Regions from separate parts of the Homo sapiens genome. Here regions 1 and 3 are each linked to region 2. The links are contacts of gene promoters, found by promoter capture Hi-C in blood cells and fetal thymus (Javierre and others, 2016). All regions are on one chromosome and are shown on one strand. Each heading gives the region's core, a stretch centred on a gene start or on the middle of the fragment in contact. The rest is flanking DNA. Distances are from core to core; before and after follow the strand shown. Region 1 overlaps MARCHF6 (membrane associated ring-CH-type finger 6). Region 2 holds the start of CMBL (carboxymethylenebutenolidase homolog). Region 3 overlaps MARCHF6 (membrane associated ring-CH-type finger 6).

The links. Contacts are between HindIII fragments. The CHiCAGO score rates a contact against its expected background, and 5 or more counts as called.
Region 1: a fragment that was not itself captured here is called in contact with the fragment with the promoter of CMBL in region 2 in 1 of 17 cell types (erythroblasts); the score reaches 6.2 in erythroblasts.
Region 3: a fragment that was not itself captured here is called in contact with the fragment with the promoter of CMBL in region 2 in 4 of 17 cell types (erythroblasts, megakaryocytes, naive CD4 T cells and 1 more); the score reaches 10.9 in erythroblasts.

The regions. Positions count from the first base shown.
Region 1 is chr5:10,399,463-10,402,230 of GRCh38, forward strand. It overlaps MARCHF6 (membrane associated ring-CH-type finger 6), which reads left to right. Exons shown (of 26, transcript NM_005885.4): 11 at 1,322-1,380; 12 at 2,597-2,677. Among named protein-coding and RNA genes, the nearest start is that of MIR10397, 1.5 kb to the right of the region's middle. RefSeq lists an enhancer at 1,555-1,604. The HindIII fragment of the contact is 4,451 bases long and covers 1-2,768 here.
Region 2 is chr5:10,306,253-10,309,268 of GRCh38, forward strand. It overlaps CMBL (carboxymethylenebutenolidase homolog), which reads right to left and starts at 1,650. Exons shown (of 6, transcript NM_138809.4): 1 at 1,373-1,650. RefSeq lists an enhancer at 928-1,428. The HindIII fragment of the contact is 4,286 bases long and covers 236-3,016 here.
Region 3 is chr5:10,417,440-10,420,290 of GRCh38, forward strand. The region is part of intron 22 of MARCHF6 (membrane associated ring-CH-type finger 6); the gene reads left to right. Among named protein-coding and RNA genes, the nearest start is that of MIR10397, 17 kb to the left of the region's middle. The HindIII fragment of the contact is 7,264 bases long and covers 1-2,851 here.

The sequences.
Region 1 (2,768 bases), core at 255-2,754, 93 kb after region 2:
CTACTGCGCTGTCGATTTATTTCTACCATAAAGAAAAGATAACTATATTTTATTATTAGGAATGAAGTAAAATTTAGCCAGAAAGACTTGAGGAAAAAGAAGACTATAAAAATTCTCTTGCTATAAAGGTTTTAAAAATACTTTCATACTTAGCTATAATGCCATTATCTCACCTTACAAAATTACTAGAATTTGGTATTTCCTAATAATCCATCATATTCAAACTCTCTGGGTTGTCCCTTACATACCATTTTGCAGTTGGTTTCTTTGAATGAAGACCCAAATAAGGTCCACATATTACTTTTAGTTGTTAAGTTATAAGTTATTAGTCTTTTAATCTAGAGTACTCTTCTCTTTGCTTCCCCCAACTCACCCTATTTGGCCATTGATTTGTTGCTGGGATTAGGTTAACTGTTCTTGCAGCATGTCATGTTTTACATCTGTCCATCTGCTTCCTGGATGTCCTCTGCCTTTATCCTTTGTCTCCCATATTTCTCTTAAACTGGAAGTCAGATCTAAGGGCCTTATTAGATTCAGGTTGAATACATCTGGGACAAATCCATCACTGGTCACACTGTGCCTATTAATAGTATATGTGAGGAGCTGAGATACATGATGTTGGATTATCCACTTTTATCACTGGATTCAGCTGATATCAACCTGGGCCTCTAATCTTAGGTTTTGTTTTTCCCTTTACCATTATAAAATAATCTGTTGGGAGTGATATTTTAAACAGTCATTTTTTATATTTATTGGCTGACTTTTCTGAAAGAAGAAGAAATTCTTATCAATTTGGGACTATTCAGTCAACCCAAACCTGTCTGTCCGGGGCAAGTAGGACAGATGCTCATATTTTTCCCATTAATTTTGGTTTTCAGAATAAGGAATTGGTGTATTAACTATTCACATGGGTGTGCTAACTGCTTCCAAAACATCAAAGTGTTTTCTTTGATGTTGCTTTTTCTCTTTTCGTGATTATTATTTTGGACTTTTCCTTTTTTGAGCATCATAAACTCATGGATTTGTGTATGTTCAGTGTTTTTCCATCAGTTTTGGTCATTATTCTTTTTGATGCTCATATTATCCTCTCTTTGGCCTGTTTTCACAATGGTTTCTGTGTTGATTTGGCATGGCCCTATTAGACCTTAATAGCTTTGTTGTTCTCTAGTTACAGAGAATGTCCTAGGCAGTGTATTTTTAGCCTAGTTCTGGAATCTTTCATTTCTCCAAGAAGCCCTAGTTCCTTTTAGTGGGGAATTGTAGTAGGAGTGTTCATTGTTTTGATGTCGGAGTTTTCATGGAATTTTTTCCCCCTTTTTAGCATTTTGCCCTTACCATATTGGTCATTTCTCCCTTGTTGGTTTGGGATTTGAAGAACACGTGAGTATAATACTTTTACAAAGTTACTTTCATTCATTACTCCCAAATGTGATTATTAATAAAATAGTATTCTAAAGAGTTACATCATTTCTTCATTGGCATTATGCAAGGGAATAGTTAGGCAATACCGTCTCATTCTTTTTTAAAAAAAATAACAGTGGCTCAAGAGATAGTGGTCATGTTGCCAACTAATGAAAATGTGCTCTGAAATCCAGTCAGCTGGGTGGGCCTGAGGCATACCGTGGGAAAGTTTCCCACAGGCTGATTTTCTGTCCATCTCAAGAACCTGTATGTTCTCTTCTTTCCCTTTCCCCAGGTGCCCCCTGCTGAATTTAGAAAAGTAACAATATATCAATCAATTTAAAAAGGGTAGAATATTTTGGAATGACGGGTTGTAGTGTTTTCTAGAGTGCTTTAGTTTTGACATTTTATCAGTATTTTCCAGAGGTAAATAAATTTTGGAAGGATTATTACTTCTCTGTTGGGGCCCTAGAACAATTTAGTCTTTTATGGAAAAGCTGACTATCTGGGATCATATGCTCAGTTTGTATATTTGAGATCTGAGAGATCACGTTCTGAAGTCTTCTCATATTTAGTACACCTCTGATTCTCACTAGTTGAATGCAAGAACTTGAAAGGTTCAGGTAAGTGTTTTGAAAAATTTTGACTTTCCAAACTTTTGCCACTTGCTATCTGAAACTCAGGAATCAAAAAATACCGACAGGCACTGTTACTTTCAAAATTCTTTCTATAAGTTGAGAATGGGACAGATTTGCAGAGCAAGGGAAACTTGAACAGTTACTTCTAGTGGTAGGAAATGAGGTGGCTAGGATATTACCCAGCTGGTGGGTGACTTGGGCAGTGTGTTCCTGCTTTCAGTGGTTAGCCTTTAGCAAATCTGCTTTAGAGTGAGAGTAGAGGGCAGGCTGTTGTATTACAGTGCTCTTGTTTTTGTAAAATTTAATTCACTCTACTGTTATTTTGTCTCCTTGGGTAAAGTGTTATTTAATTTTTCTTCATTTTTTAGTAATATATAACAGTCAGTGAGAGAATTTGGTTTTCAGAGATGTCATCCAAAGCAGATTTTACAGTTGTTTCCTGGTTATAAATTGTCTCAACAATTCTCTTTTAGTCATTTAGATTGTTTAATATGGGAAAACCGGGGTGTAGAACATGTTGTAAAATTAAATTTTATTTACTTTTTTCTTATTTCCAGGTCCAAGCATCTCATTTTGAAGGCCTAATCACAACCATAGTTGGGTATATACTTTTAGCAATAACACTGATAATTTGTCATGTATCCTTTAATGAACCAACTTGGGTGTACACTAATATTATTCATACCAAAGAACTCTTCATTAATGGCGAAACTTGTCTATCCTTGTCCT
Region 2 (3,016 bases), core at 400-2,899:
TAGAGAAAACAGATTTTGACAAGCAAAAGGGACTGGTGCAGTTGGGATTATAACAAGCAGGGAAGTCTAGGAATACATCTCCAGCCTCCTGGGAGAGCCTGAGCCCGGAGGGGGCAGAGAGGAGGAGGAGGGAGGTCTGGGGGAAGAGAGGTCTGCAAAGTAGGGGAAGGGAAGGCCAGGAGGGAGGGAGGCGCAGCGGGGAGGAGAGGAGAGAAGGGAGGAATACATTTCTGGAAGCTTTAGAAATTTAGAAATAGAAACCACGTGGAAGTGCATCCAGGGCTCAGGGTTACAGAGGACCCCAAGACAACACAGGAAAGTGGGGTCTAATGGGAAAGGCAGGAGGTTTCTCCTTTACTGCTTAAACATTGTAGGAACTTGCATGGCAAGTGATTTTCAATCTTGCAGCAGGGAAGGCAGGGCCAGTACTTATCCTTAGATGATTCTACAAACATCAAACTTCTCCAAATATTTATTTTTCAGCAGCCATGCTTGTATTTTCCAAGTGTCTATGGTCGAGATAGCATGAATTAGGAAGCTACCTGGATGAGCCCACAATGGCCCTCTTAGACATGCCAACGACGCCCCTGCAGAATCTGCTTTTTCTCTGGCTGTTCCTAGGCCTGGATAGGGTTCCCAGGCCTGGACAGGATTCCCCGGATACCGGCGAGGCTCATTACTAACCACTTTATTTTAAATGGGCTTTGAAAACAACAGGTGGCATCTTCCATCAGCAAGTGGACATAAATCTCAGTGCCCAGTGTTTCCAAGGCCTGCCCGACCCACATGGCTGTGGGGTGTAAACTGTCCAGTCGTTCCTGGCACACCTACCCAGCATTTAGGATGTCCCACTCTTAGATCCATAGACCCAGCACCTCTCTTCTTAATACCCACCCTAAAGAAAAGCTGTCGAATGTGGATGCTGATTTAGTTGCAAATATGCTCAGTTTTTTAATAGTTTTATATTAGTAAAAACGCTACAACCAGAATGTCTCACTGCAGGAAGAGAGTTACAAGGAGTATTTAACGGCATGGTGGAAAGGCTCCTCCGTGCTAAATGGCCAAAACGAACGCAAGTTTGCATACGGTGTGATTTCCACTATGTCTTTAAAATGCATGGCGAAACACCTACAGGAAAATACCAAAATGTAAACAGCGGCTGCTTCGGACGCATGGGATCGTGGAGGCTGCTGTTCTGCAAGGACAACGTATCACTTTTATGAAAGTCAGCTTCTGAAAACGGACTATGGGAAGTTCCTTACCCGTGCACGCGGCAAAGACCTTCTTTGCCATAGTCAGAACACACGCGGGAGTTCAGAGGAGCGGGGCCCGGGCTTGTGTGGGCTTGTGTGCCCCGGGGACGCGCACGTACCTTGTCCCGCGGCCTGAGACTGCGCTGCACCGCGCGGAGGCCGAACCCAGAGGAGGCGGCGTGGCGCCGGGCGGGGACGCGAGAGGGACGTGGACGCGGCGACCGAGGACGCGGGGATCCTGCGGGACCAGTGGCTCCAGTCGTAGCCTCCTGGGAGAGCCAAGCCCGGAGGGGGCGGAGAGGTGGAGGAGGGAGGCCTGGGGGAAGAGAAATCTGCAAAGTCGGGGAAGGGAAGGAAGGCCAGGAGGGAGGGAGGCGCAGTGGGGAGGAGACGAGAGAAGGGAGGGAGGGAAGTGTGAGGGGAGGGGAAGAAGTGGGGTGGTCGGAGGGTGGGGTAGGGAGGAAGAGGGAGGGAGAGATGGGAGAGGCTCCAAGATAAAGAAAGGTGCAGGGAGAGGGGGTGGGAGGGAGGGAACCGCAGAGAGGAAGGGAGAAGAGAATCAGGCAGCCTTGAGGGAGGAGGCAGGGAGGCCAGGAGAAGGAAGACAGCCAGCCTTCTGTGAGATTTACGTGCGTGCCTGGCTTCCAAGACAAGTAACTTCTGTTGTAAATACAAATTAAGCTATTTTTTGTTTATTTTATTTTATTTTATTTTATTTTATTTTATTTTATTTTAGAGATAGGGTCTTATTCTGTCACCCAGGCTGGAGTGCAGTGACACAATCATAGATCACTGGAGCCTCGAACTCCTGGCTTCAAGTGATCCTCCCCTTCAGCCTCCCAAAGTGCTGGGATTACAGGTGTGAGCCACCATGCCCAGCCACAATTTTTTTTTTTTTTTTTTTTTTTTTTGAGATGGAGTCTAACCCTGTTGCCGAGGCTGGAGTGCAGTGGCACGATCTCAACCTCAACCTCACTGCAACCTCCACCTCCCGGATTCAAGTGATTCTCCTGCCTCAGCTTCCCCAGTAGCTGGGATTATAGGCACGCGCCACCACGCCCAGCTAATTTTTGTGTTTTCAATAGAGACGGAGTTTTACCGTGTTGGCCAGGCTGGTCTCGAACTCCTGACCTCAAGTGTTCCACCTGCTTCGGCCTCCCAAACTGCCGAGATTACAGGCGTGAGCCGCCGCACCCGGCCCCAGCCCCAAATTAAGCCTTTTTTTAAAAAAGAAATTAATACACGTTTCATACTTGCCTCCTTCGTATTTTCTCTGGTCATCTGCCCAAGGTTATGACAACAGCTTCAACTTGGCTGCAGAAGCACACCCCTGTGGCTCACTCAAACTGGAAACATACAGGAAAAGGGAATTCTAGGAATATAGCTCAGCCTGGACAAATGGGCACATTAAAAAGCCATTGCACCGTGGTGGCCGCACTTCCTGCCATCCCCACTGCAAAGGTGTTGTTATGGACTGAATGTTTGTGTCCCCTCCAAAATTTGTACGTTGAAATCCTAACCACCCCGCCCATGGTGGTATTTGGAGGCGGGGCCTTTGGGAGATGCTTAGGTCATGAGGGTGGAGCCCCCAAGAATGGGATTTGTGCCGTTACAAAAAGAGGCAAGGGAGCTTGCTTCCTCATCTGTATGCCAGGAAGAGGATACTCACCAAGAACCCAATCCTGCTGGCCCATCCCAGACTTCCAACTTCCAGAACTATAAGAAATAAATGTTGTTTAAGCTACCCAAGTCTATCTATGATG
Region 3 (2,851 bases), core at 149-2,648, 110 kb after region 2:
AGGATTTGAGATCAGAAAATAATCCTAGCCAGGCATGGGGCTTACGCCTATAATCTAGCACTTTGGGAGGCTGAGGTGGGAGGACTGCTTGCACCCAGGAGTTCGAGACCAGCCTGGGCAGCATGGCAAGACCTAGTCTCTATAAAAAATTGGCTCATGCGTCTGGTCCCAGCTGCTTGGGAGGCAAAGGTGAGAGGATCACAGGAGGTTGAGGCTGAAGTGAGCCATGTTCATGACACTGCACTGTAGCCTGGGCAACAGAGTAAGAGCCTCTGTCCAAAAAAAAAAAAAAAAAAAAAGACAAAAGGAAAAAAATATAATTTTTAATTATTTTAGGTGATTTTAAGCAGCTGGTTTAGAAAGACTAATTTTTTTTTTAATTCTAGGAACTCTTATAAAATTGTTTAATGCTCTTTAATCTTTCAGAATATGCAGGTCTTATAACTCCTTTAAAAGTGCTTACTTTATAGGTTAAAATGTTACTAACCATTTAGTCTTCTCTAATACTTGAAAATACAAATTAATAGTCATTGATTTTTGTTCACCTTTGAGGTAGGGTGAATTGTCTTACTCCTTTTGACTTGGAGGCTTTAATACTTTTGAATTATTATAGCATGTTTTCCCACAAAGTCACAGATTCATTAAAAAGAGTATCCTGGCTGGGTGCAGCGGCTTATGCCTGCAATCACAGCACTTTGGGAGGCCAAGGTGGGTGGATCACCTGAGCTCAGGAGTTGAAGACTAGCCTGGACAACATGGTGAAATCCCATCTCTACCCAAAATACAAAAAATTAGCCAAGCGTGGTGGTGTGGGCATGTGGTCCCAGCTACTCGAGAGGCTGAGGTGGGAGGATCTCTTGAGCCTGGGAGGCCGCGGTTGCAGTGAGCTGAGATCATGCTACTGCACTCCAGCCCGGGCGACAAGAGTGAGACCCTGTCTCCAAAAAAAAAAAAAAAACCAAGAGCATCCTGAGGGAACCCATGTAAGTCACAGCAAAGGTCTTAAAGCTCATGGAAAAAGAAATGGAACTTTTCTATTGTATTTAGAGCCTGAGGTTTTTAACATCATAGAATTAAGATCTCAAGTTCTTAGTAGGTATTGGGGGAAAAGAGCTAGGTATTGACTTCAGTCATTCAAAGGCTTTTTAGCTTTGTTTTTATCTGTTAGTATATTGCAATGGATTTTTCAGAAAATGAAAATTATTTGGCCCGTATTTCCCTTTTTCTGCTTTCCAGATGGAGAACCTCCACAAACTTCATTTACCCGAAAATTTTTATTTAAGTGCTTTTAATGGTGTACCCACACCCTGGATTGTATCACCCAGATGAAAATGAGGCTAGTGCAGTAATTTTCCTGAGGAATTTACACACTCTGATGGGAAAGCTAGACAGGTACACAGGTGTTGTGTGGTGTGATTAGGGGAAGCACAAGGAACTGTGGCATTGTGTAGGAGAGACATTTAATCTAGCTTTGGGAGTTTCAGGTATGGTGTTCCATAAGAGATAGTATCTAAGCCAACCTAACTAGTAGAGAACAGAGAAGTGGGTAAGAAAGGAAGAAGTATATTCCAGGAGGGAGATGGGCAGACCTGGCTTGAGACAAGGCATGCATATGTGGGGAACTGCCTCCTTTCTAGTCTGGTTCATAGACTAGAATAGGTGAGAAATAAGTAATACAAAGAAGTACAGAACTGACTTGTGTTTTGATTTATGACTTTTTAACTTTTTGATGGTTGAAAGCGATACACATTCAGCAGAAACTGTACTTTGAGTACTTCTACAGCTATTCTGTTTTTCACTTTCAGTATAGTATTCAGTAAATTGCATGAGATAGTCACTACGTAATTATAAAATTACGTAGGCTTGTTAGGCCTCAGTTATACTACAAGGCAAAAAATAAAATAGGTTTTGTGTTAGAAGTTTTTGCCCAACTATAGGCTAATGTAAATGTTCCGAGCGCATTGTGATAGGCTGGGCTAAGCTATGATGTTCGGTAGGTTAGATGTATTAAATGCATTTTTGACTTACAGTGTTTTCAATTACAGATGGGTTTATCTGGACCTAACATCATTGTAAGTTGAGGAGGATCTAATTAAGCATATGTTATGCCTTTCTGTAAGAGCCGTATTCCAGAGTAGTCAAATAGTATCTGTAATTGAAGGAAAGAGCTACCTTTTTTTTTTTTTTTTACAGAAAAATGCCAGCAAATAAAGGTAGAGAGATTAACACGATTAGAAAAATACTATTTTGCAATACCTAACAAAATAATTGATTATAGCAAGGATTGTTAATGGATGTTGAACCCAACAGATGAAAGGTTGATCAGTCTTCAGTTGCTATTGCTGTGTAACAAGTTATCCCGCAACTTTGCAGCTTAAAACAACCATTTTAATTTTGTCCATAGAGTCTGTGGGTCAGATATTAAGACAGGGCATATCACTTTGCCTCTGCTTTGTGCTATCTGGGACTCAGCTGGGAAGATTCAATGGCTGGGAATGATTTGACAGTTATGGATGGAATCATTTGGCTGGAAACACACAACTAGTGGAGGGGTCAGGCTGATAATACCCTAACCCAGTCAGTGATCACTTAACAGTGTGAGAGTTGATGCTTGTTGTTGGTTGCTACCCATCTGGGGCTGTTGACTGGAGCTCCTATATGTGCCTGGGCTGCTTCATAGCTAAGTAACCTCAAGGTATTTGGGCTTCTTACGTTGTAGTTCAGGGAAATGAGTGACCCCACAAACAAGAAGCTGCATCATCTTTAATGACCCCATGTCAGAAGGCCTACAACATCACTTTTCAGTACATTTTACTGGGTATAAGCAAGTAACAAATGTTGGCTAAGATTC